Regions from separate parts of the Homo sapiens genome. Here regions 1 and 3 are each linked to region 2. Evidence: promoter capture Hi-C in human tissues and cell types (Jung and others, 2019). All regions are on one chromosome and are shown on one strand. The core of a region is centred on a gene start or on the middle of the fragment in contact, and the rest is flanking DNA. Distances in the headings are between cores, read along the strand shown.

Region 1 (2,700 bases), core at 25-2,524, 51 kb after region 2:
ATTTCTTACAGGTGTTCTGCCCCATCCCAGGCTGTGGAAGCCTCCCTAGCACTCAGTATGAGCCCATGTGCCTTAGCTATTTATTAACACAGAACACACATTTTCCCCCAATGTACTGTCTTCACTTAATATATCCTAGAGATCACTCTATATCCAGATACTTCTCAGTACTTTTTATGACTGCACAGTATCTCATTGCACAGCTCTAACAAGTTGTTCAGTCATTACTTTTAATGGAAAGTTTGATGTTTTCAGTCATTTGTTATCATAATAGTGCTGCAATAAATAGCATTTCATATTTTTTCCAGTCAGTCTTTGAGATAGATACCTAGAGGTCAATCGCTTCATCAGAGAGTAAGTGAATTTGTAGTTTTGGAGGATTTGTGTGAGAGGAGGGAGAGAAGACATTCCAGGCAAGGGGAACAGAGTAAACAAAGGTATTGAGGTGGAGACACGCCAGTTTGTTCAGGGCATTAAGAGACAACTGGTCTGGTTAGTATGAGGTATACAGAGGGCAGGAAGCTGGGTGATGGCATCAATACCCATGATACTGATAGTTGCTGTGTGCAAGTGGGCTTGACTGCTAAGGCAACATCTTTGTACTTCTGTCCTGTTGGTACTAGGAAAACACTGCCTGATTTTGACAAAGAAAATGACATGCTCCAAATGACATTTTAGAGAGATGAATATTGCCAAGTTGTGCATGATAATTGGAGAACTGTCTTGAGCCATGGAAACTGACTAAGTGATTAATGGAATATTCCATTCATATGGATGTTCAGAGCTACTAATGGGACAAACAGAGAAAATGGTCCCAAATCTCTGAGGAATTCTTCCCCTCTGTAAGCTGTTCATGATCATGCTTCCTTCTCCTAGGAGCTTCTGGCACTTACGTGCACAATTTTTTCCTTCATGAGTGATTGTGTGTGACTTACGAAGGAAAAAAGAGCAATGTGTCATATGCTACCATAGGGAGAAATGTTACTCAGAGGTAATTGGAATACTAAGGCAGAATTCAATATAGTATATGGCTCTCATCGGTATGAAGAGAAGAAGAAATTCTTCCTGGAATTCGTCTTCTGTTAGGACTTCATTCATTAGGGTTAAAGTGATCTTTAACTTTTGAGGGGTTAAAGATGTGTATCGGCGATGACAAATGAGGGTGTGCTGTAGGAACAAATAGCCGTATGATCTCCTTGGAATAAAACATCAAAGCTTTTTTTTTTCCTCACACTACATGTCCATTTTGGATTGGCAGGAGGGACCGGCCGATTTGCAGAGCCTCAGGGGCCTGAGCTAATGGAGTTGCTGCCATTTTGACCATTGCCAACCATGATACCAGAGGGAAATGAAATGTGGTAAGCTTTGTCTCTTAAGGTTTCTGTCCAAAAGTGCCCAAAGTCACTCTCACATTTCAGTGCCCCAAGTCACATGGATGTATTTGCTTCTAGAGGTGGGACAGTGCCATCTGCTTATGGGCCAGGAAGAGAGAAAAGCAAAAGATGTGTGATCACCCTGAGGACTGGCAGAGAATTACTCTAATAATCTTATAAAAGCTGTGGACTCTCCCTCCCACAATATGCACAGATGTACACATTCCTGGTACAATTTCATTTTAATTTCAAGTGGTTCACAGGCGTCCTGAAGCCTATATACTGATTCTGTAAAGATCCAACTAAAGGATGAGAACTATACTTCCCAATTATATATTCGTTGCTAATTTCTCTACCAATATTTACCTGTGAGCTTTCTCACTCTCTTGCTCTCTTAAAAGCAATCTCAGTTCTTTTCACTTACTATGTGAAGTGCTATAAGGATCTAAACAGTATTAGATTCTGGGAATATATTCTAGAGCAGCATAATCTGGCACAGTAAGTGAAACTGTCACTTGACAATACTATCACTTCTTAGCAATGTGATTAGTCAAATTGTCAATGAGATTGGGGCAAATTACTTAACATCCTGCGTCTCAATTTTGTCTCCTCTAAAATAGAAATCATAAAACCTTCTTCACAGGGTTGTTGAACATTTAAAAGGATGGATATTTATGGGTTAGGACCAATATGTACTTTGTCACCTATAACTTTGCAAAGTTGGGTGGTATTGTGTAGGTATGGGCTGGAGAAAAGTGGTGATACCCGTGGTTCAAAGGGTTATTAGAAGAAGGTGATCTTGTGTAATACTACAAAAAGACATAGGCTGTGCCCCTCCTGTTCATTTATAGCCAAGTTGCAGAAGCAAACATATGAGACCATTGAAAATGGAAAGAAATCATAAGACTAGTATGGATCATTGCCAAGTGATTACTTCAGAAAATAAGTGCTTTAAATTCAGACCAGGAGGAGATTGCTATTAGCGGGAGGGATCACGGGAAGACTTTGTGGAAGAGGTGAGGTTTGAACTTGAAGGATTGAATTTGGGTTGGTGGTGTAGAGGTGGCAGCCATTTTGCTCAGAGGGAATGATGGAACAAAGCACAGAATTAAACGAGACGATGCATGTGAACGTATATGGGGTTGTTGAGCATCTAGGAAACGCCTCACAGGATAGTAACGACCAGGTTCAGGCCAGAAGTGGGGGAGTGGGTGCTTGGGGAGTGGGTGCTTAGGCACTGGGGCACTTGGAAGGGGTTTGGCATATGAGAAGATGAGATCCCACATGGGTAATAGGCTGGGGCTAGTCCTGGGCAATTCCGAAATTT
Region 2 (2,867 bases), core at 105-2,604:
GGTTCCGGGCCCGGCGTCTCTCACCCCGCTGGTCTCCCCACGCCCGCCGGGTCCCCTAGGAGTGCACTAGCACCGAGTGCAAGGAGCCGCCCTTGCTTTCGGCCGAGGTAGGGGCTGTGGGCTCCAGCAGAGAGGCAACGGGCGAGGCCGCGGCCGCGGAGCACACGGTGGATGGCGCCGGAGGCTGCTGCGAAGCCGCGGGGACAGTGAGCCCCGGCTGCAGCGCGGACACGGGCGGCAGCGCAGGCGTGGGCTTGATGGGCACCGGCATGGCAGGCAGGCTCTGGCTTGCCGAGTGGCACAGGGACTTGACCGGGACCCCGAAGGCCCCATACTCCGGGCCTACAGGGACTCCGGCTGCGGCTGCGGCGGCCGCGGCGGCGGCCACCGAATCCATGACGCCAACGTGCGGCCACACGGAGCTGACGACGTTGCCAAGCTGGCCGGGCACGGGGTAGCCCAGGTGGTGCATGACGGACGCCAAGGGCAGCCCTCCAGCCTGCAGCACGCCCTTGTAGTCCCGGCCAATAATGTTCTCAATGGCAAAGGGGTGCTTGAAGCCTGACGTGGACGCCGCGGCCGCGGCGGCAGCGGCGGCGGCCGAGCCCAGCCCGTAGGGTGGGAACTGAGACAGGCGTCCCACGCTGCCCACCGCGGCTGCCGCGGCCGCCGCCGCCGCCGCCGCCACGGCCGCCGCCTCCTGCATCTTGCCGGGGTGAGACGGCTGCTGAGGCTGCGACTGCTGGGGCGGTTGCTGCGGGGGCTGTGACGGGAGGTGCGGAGGCGGCTGCGGAGCAGTAGGCGGTTGCTGATGGAAATAGTGTACCATGTGCGGCGGCGGCGGGGGCGGCGGCGGCGGCGGCTGGGGTGGGTGGTGGTGATGGTGGTGGTGTGCGGCAGCGTGGTGATGATGGTGGTGGTGGGGGTGGTGGTGGTGATGGGGGTGAAGGTGCCCTCCCGGACCGGCGCCCGGCGCGCTCTTGGTGCTTCCCGCGTGCAAGTGAGTATGGTCGGCGCGCAGCACCTTGAAGCGCTTGCGACGCCGCAGGAAGCTGCCGTTCTCGAACATGTCCCCGCAGTCGGGGTGCAGCGCCCAGAAGCTACCCTTGCCAGGCTGGTCGGGCCTCCGCGGAATCTTGATGAAGCAGTCGTTGAAGGAGAGGTTGTGGCGCAGGCTGTTCTGCCAGCGCTGTGTGTGCTCGCGGTAGTAGGGGAAGCGCTCCATGATGAACTTGTAGATGTCGCTCAGCGGCAGCATCTTCTCGGCCGAGTGCTGGATTGCCATGGCGGTCAGCGAGATGTAAGAGTAGGGCGGTTTTTGGTCGCTGTACGAGCTCTTCCCCGGCCGCGGCATCGCCCCCGGCTCCTCCACCGCCCTCCGGCCCGCACTGGACCACAGAATCTCTCCGCACTCCGTTCCTGGGGCCTGGCTGCCCCCACTAATTCCCACTCGGCCCCTCCAGTCCCGCCACTTTGCCCTCTCGCCCTCCAGGCCCTCTCTGCTTCTCTCTCCTGCCTTCTCCGAATTGCCTGGTGTCTCCGACCTTGGCCTTTCGGGCCTACTCAGCTCTCGGAAGCTGGCAACTTCTGGCCCCGACGGTTGCCGACTGGCGCGCACAGTCGCGGGCGGAGTGCACCAGGTTTACCGCCGCCTTCTCTGCGTCTTCCCCCGGGTGGCCAAAGACTGAGTGCTGGAGCTGGCTGCAGAGGAGAGTGGCAAGGGGCCGTGTTTCCTCCCGGCCTCTTTGCTTTTTCTAGGTCCGAGGGAAACCCAGACCAAGATGGCTGGGAGGAAGGTCTGGGCAGTAGAGACTCTGGCCCTTTAAATCTGAGTTTGCGCCTGCTGTCCTGGAGGCCAGTGACAGCAGGACTTCCAGTGCCCTGGACGCAGGCCCCTGGCCAGGCACTTAGCCAGACCGCGCTGGAGTTCTCCTTTTCCTGGAGTGAAAAATCAGGGTAAGGAGAGAGAAGATTGGCTTCTAGGGCGCCTCTCTTTTCTCCGAGGCTCGCAGCGTCGCCGGGGTTAGAAGAGACGCGCAGCCCTAGGCTGTCGCTGAGGAGAAAAAACTTTGGTGGTTTCTGAAGCGGCAGCGCCCGCAGGTTCTGCTGAGGAGTGTGGGGCGCAGGACTCTGGGAGCGAGCGGCGGGCTGGAGAGGGCGTCTGCGAATGCTGGGTGAGTGCTGGCCGGGGAGGCTCAGCCGTCCGCGCCGCAGCTGCCGCCTTTCTCCCGGGCTTGTCTTGAGGAGGAGAGGCGACGGCAGTGGCAGCGACGCGCTCTCCTGGCTGCGTTTTGTAATGGTCCCCGAGACGCCGAGACCCCCGCAGCTAGCGCTTCGAGACTATCACATGACCGAGGCTGAGGGACTCAGCCGCCGCCGCCGCGTCTGTAGCTGAAGAAGGGGCAAGAAGGCGCCGTGCCTCGCCCCCGCCCCCTTTTCCACCTCGTTTCGGGCGCTCTCCACCCATCGCGTTCACCACTCGCTCGGCAGCCCCCAGCCACCTCCCGGTGCGGCGGGTGGCGCAGGCTGTTCGCCGGGAGGGGGCACAGCTCCGGGTGCATTTCCCGCAGCTGCGCCCCACCCGGGCCACCAAGCACGGTGGAGGGGGAACAGGACACTGCCTTCTTGCTTCTCTTCTCTCTGGCATCTCCCTCTTCCGCCCCCTTCCTTTTACCCTTCCCTGTTTTCATCTACTCGCTGTGAGCTTCTCTCTCCTTACAAACCCTTTTTCCTGGGCTAGACACTCTGGGTCAAGTTCAGAGTATCGTGTCCTCAAGGCCTCTTCTCTGCAAGAAACCCCGATGATTAGAGGGCTGGAGGGAAAAACTCATGGGGAAGAAAGCATGGGGTGTTTTCACCAAATGCCA
Region 3 (2,700 bases), core at 153-2,652, 35 kb after region 2:
TCATATCTCTGTCTCGGGGGAAGCCTGGGATGAGAAGCAGCACTGTAGGGTGCTGCCCACATAAAGTCTTCTGGAGCCCAGGCAGACTTGGTTTCTGCAAGGATGCCTGGAGCTGAACACAATGTCCCTGGAGACAGATGAGGCCGAGAGGATCTGATACATAAGTGTGTCTGATGCAATATCTTATCTTTTAACTAGTTCCTCTCTTGCTTGTAGCTACTATAAACTGGAAGTCAGCTCTGAAACCTTGATGAGATTCAGGTAGAATATTTTGGCCAGATAACTTTATAAATGTTATTGTGTACTTCATATTGCACCACATCAGGAGGCACAAAATGCCAGGTTGTTTCACTATTAATGATGCTAAGTTACTTGGTTTTGTTGTGACAAGTAGATCTCTGATTGTAAAGGCCCATTTTCCCCTTTGCAATTAGCAAGCAACTGGAGATATATGACACTGTCCTTTTCCCAGCAATCTTTTAACTAATGATTTTAACATTCATTGATTTAGTCATTTTCTGAATCAATTATTTCACTGGGGGTTGCAAACTTATTAGCCGACATTCTTCTCTGAAGAAGCTTTTCTAGATCACCTGGAGATTAACTACCATTGCTCTTAGGAAGCAGGGAAAATAGTTCTTTTGTTTTAATTTCCAATTTTCAGAGTAAGGAGTTGAAAGTTAAAATAATAGTCATAATCTTCCATGGTGCCAAATTAATTTTGTTTTGTTTTGCCTCCTTTGAGTATTGTATGTGGACTTATGCCTTTTCATTTATTCAATATTTAACAATTCATTATACTTATTGAGGCTACAATTTCCCCAAATTTGCCAAGTAGAAGCCCTGAAAACTGGTTGCTGTGTTTTACTGATATGCCCTTATCATTTCTTTAGTAAAGGCTTCCTTGCTTTCTGGCAAAACAAGATGTCTCATCTTGTCCTTTCCTTGCCCCAGACTTGGAATTCAACCTTTTACTGAGGATATTTGATTCCTTTTATTGGGGAATGGTATTTAGAAGCCAAGATCCAGATACTAGGTATGCTAATTGCTACCGGAGTTTTGGTACTTCTAGACTCTTTCAACGGTCAGAACTAGGAAATCTATTTTTAAAAATCATGAGTTCATCTGATCTCTCCCTGTGACGAAGTCCCCGGGGGAGGGGTGGCCACCCTGTCTGTGATTTAGCTAACATAGCCTTCCCAGCCTCCTGGCTCTAGAGAGTCTGGGCAGTCTGGATGAGGAGGGCTCCCCCCAGCACAGCACACCTGCTCTGCCAAGGGGCAGCCAGATTGCTTCTTTAAGTGGGTCCCTGACCCTGTTCCTCCTGACTGGGTGAGACCTCCTAACAGGGGTCTCCAGACACCTCCTGTAGGAACGTTCAGGCTGGCATCAGGTTGGTGCCCCCTGGGATGGAGCCCCCAGAGGAAGGAGCAGGCTGCCATCTTTGCTGTTTCGTAGCCTTCGCTGGTGATACGTCCAGGGAGGGACTGAGGTGACTCGGATCTGGAGTGGACCCCCAGCAAACCACAGCAGCCCTATGGAAGAGTGGCCTAACTGTTAAAGGAAAACAAACAAACAGAAAGCAATAACAACAACATCAACAACAAAGACCCCACAAAACCCCTATTCACAGTTCAGCAACCTCAAAGATCGAAGGGAGATAAGCCCACAAAGATGTCAAAGAATCAACGCAAAAACACTGAAGACTCAAAAAGCCAGAGTGCTGCTTCTTCTCCAAATGACCCAACACATCTCTAGCTAGGGCACAGAACTGGGCTGAGGCTGAGATGGCTGAATTAACAGAAGTAGGCTTTAGAAGGTGGGTAATAATGAACTTCACTGAGCTAAAGGATCATGTTCTAACTCAATGTAAAGAAGCTAAGAACCAGTACAGGAGCTGATAACCAGAATAGCCAATTTAGAGAGGAACAGAACTGACTTGATGGAGCTGAAAAACACAACACAAGAACTTCACAATGCAATCAGAAGCATCAATAGCAGAATAGACCAAGTGGAGGAAAGAATCTCAGAGCTTGAAGACTATCTTTCTGAAATAAGACAGGCAGACAAGAATAGAGGAAAAAGAATGAACAAAACCTCCAAGAAATATGGGATTATGTAAAAAGACCAAACCTATGACTGATTGGAATACCTGAAAGTGACAGGGAGAATGGAACCAAGTTGGAAAGCATACTTCAGGATATCATCCAGGAGAATTTTCCCAACCTAGCAAGACAGGCCAACATTCAAATTCAGGAAATCCAGAGAACCCCAGTAAGACACTCCATGAGAAGATCAATCCCAAGACACACAATCTTTAGATTCTCCAAGGTTGAAATGGAAGAAAAAATGTTAAGGGCAGCCAGAGAGAAAGGCCAGGTCACTACAAAGGCAAGCCCATCAGACTAACAGTGGGCATCTCAGCAGAAACTCTACAAGCCAGAGGAGATTGGGGGAAGACCAAATAAAAGATATTTGTACTACCATGTTCATCGCAGCGTTGTTTACAATAGCCAAGATACAGAAACGACACTATTCAACATTCTTAAAGAAAAGAATTTCCAACCCGGAATTTTATATCTGGCCAAATTAAGCTTCATAAGCTAAGGAGAAATAAGATCCTTTTCAGACAAGCAAATGCTGAGGGAATTTGACATCACCAGGCCTGCCTTGCAAGAGCTCCTGAAAAAGCACTAAATA

The links. Contacts are between HindIII fragments. The study calls those that stand out against the background at their distance.
Region 1: a contact is called between a fragment that was not itself captured here and the fragment with the promoter of FOXB2 in region 2, in 5 of the 25 tissues and cell types used here (IMR-90 fibroblasts, adrenal gland, bladder and 2 more).
Region 3: a contact is called between a fragment that was not itself captured here and the fragment with the promoter of FOXB2 in region 2, in 5 of the 25 tissues and cell types used here (liver, mesenchymal stem cells, ovary and 2 more).

What each region holds. Positions count from the first base shown.
Region 1 is chr9:76,966,766-76,969,465 of GRCh38, reverse strand. No RefSeq gene overlaps it. Among named protein-coding and RNA genes, the nearest start is that of FOXB2, 52 kb to the left of the region's middle. The HindIII fragment of the contact is 3,894 bases long and covers 1-2,700 here.
Region 2 is chr9:77,018,142-77,021,008 of GRCh38, reverse strand. It overlaps FOXB2 (forkhead box B2), which reads right to left and starts at 1,354. Exons shown (of 1, transcript NM_001013735.1): 1 at 56-1,354. The coding sequence starts at 1,354. The coding sequence ends at 56. The HindIII fragment of the contact is 6,747 bases long and covers 1-2,867 here.
Region 3 is chr9:76,983,146-76,985,845 of GRCh38, reverse strand. No RefSeq gene overlaps it. Among named protein-coding and RNA genes, the nearest start is that of FOXB2, 35 kb to the left of the region's middle. The HindIII fragment of the contact is 5,344 bases long and covers 1-2,700 here.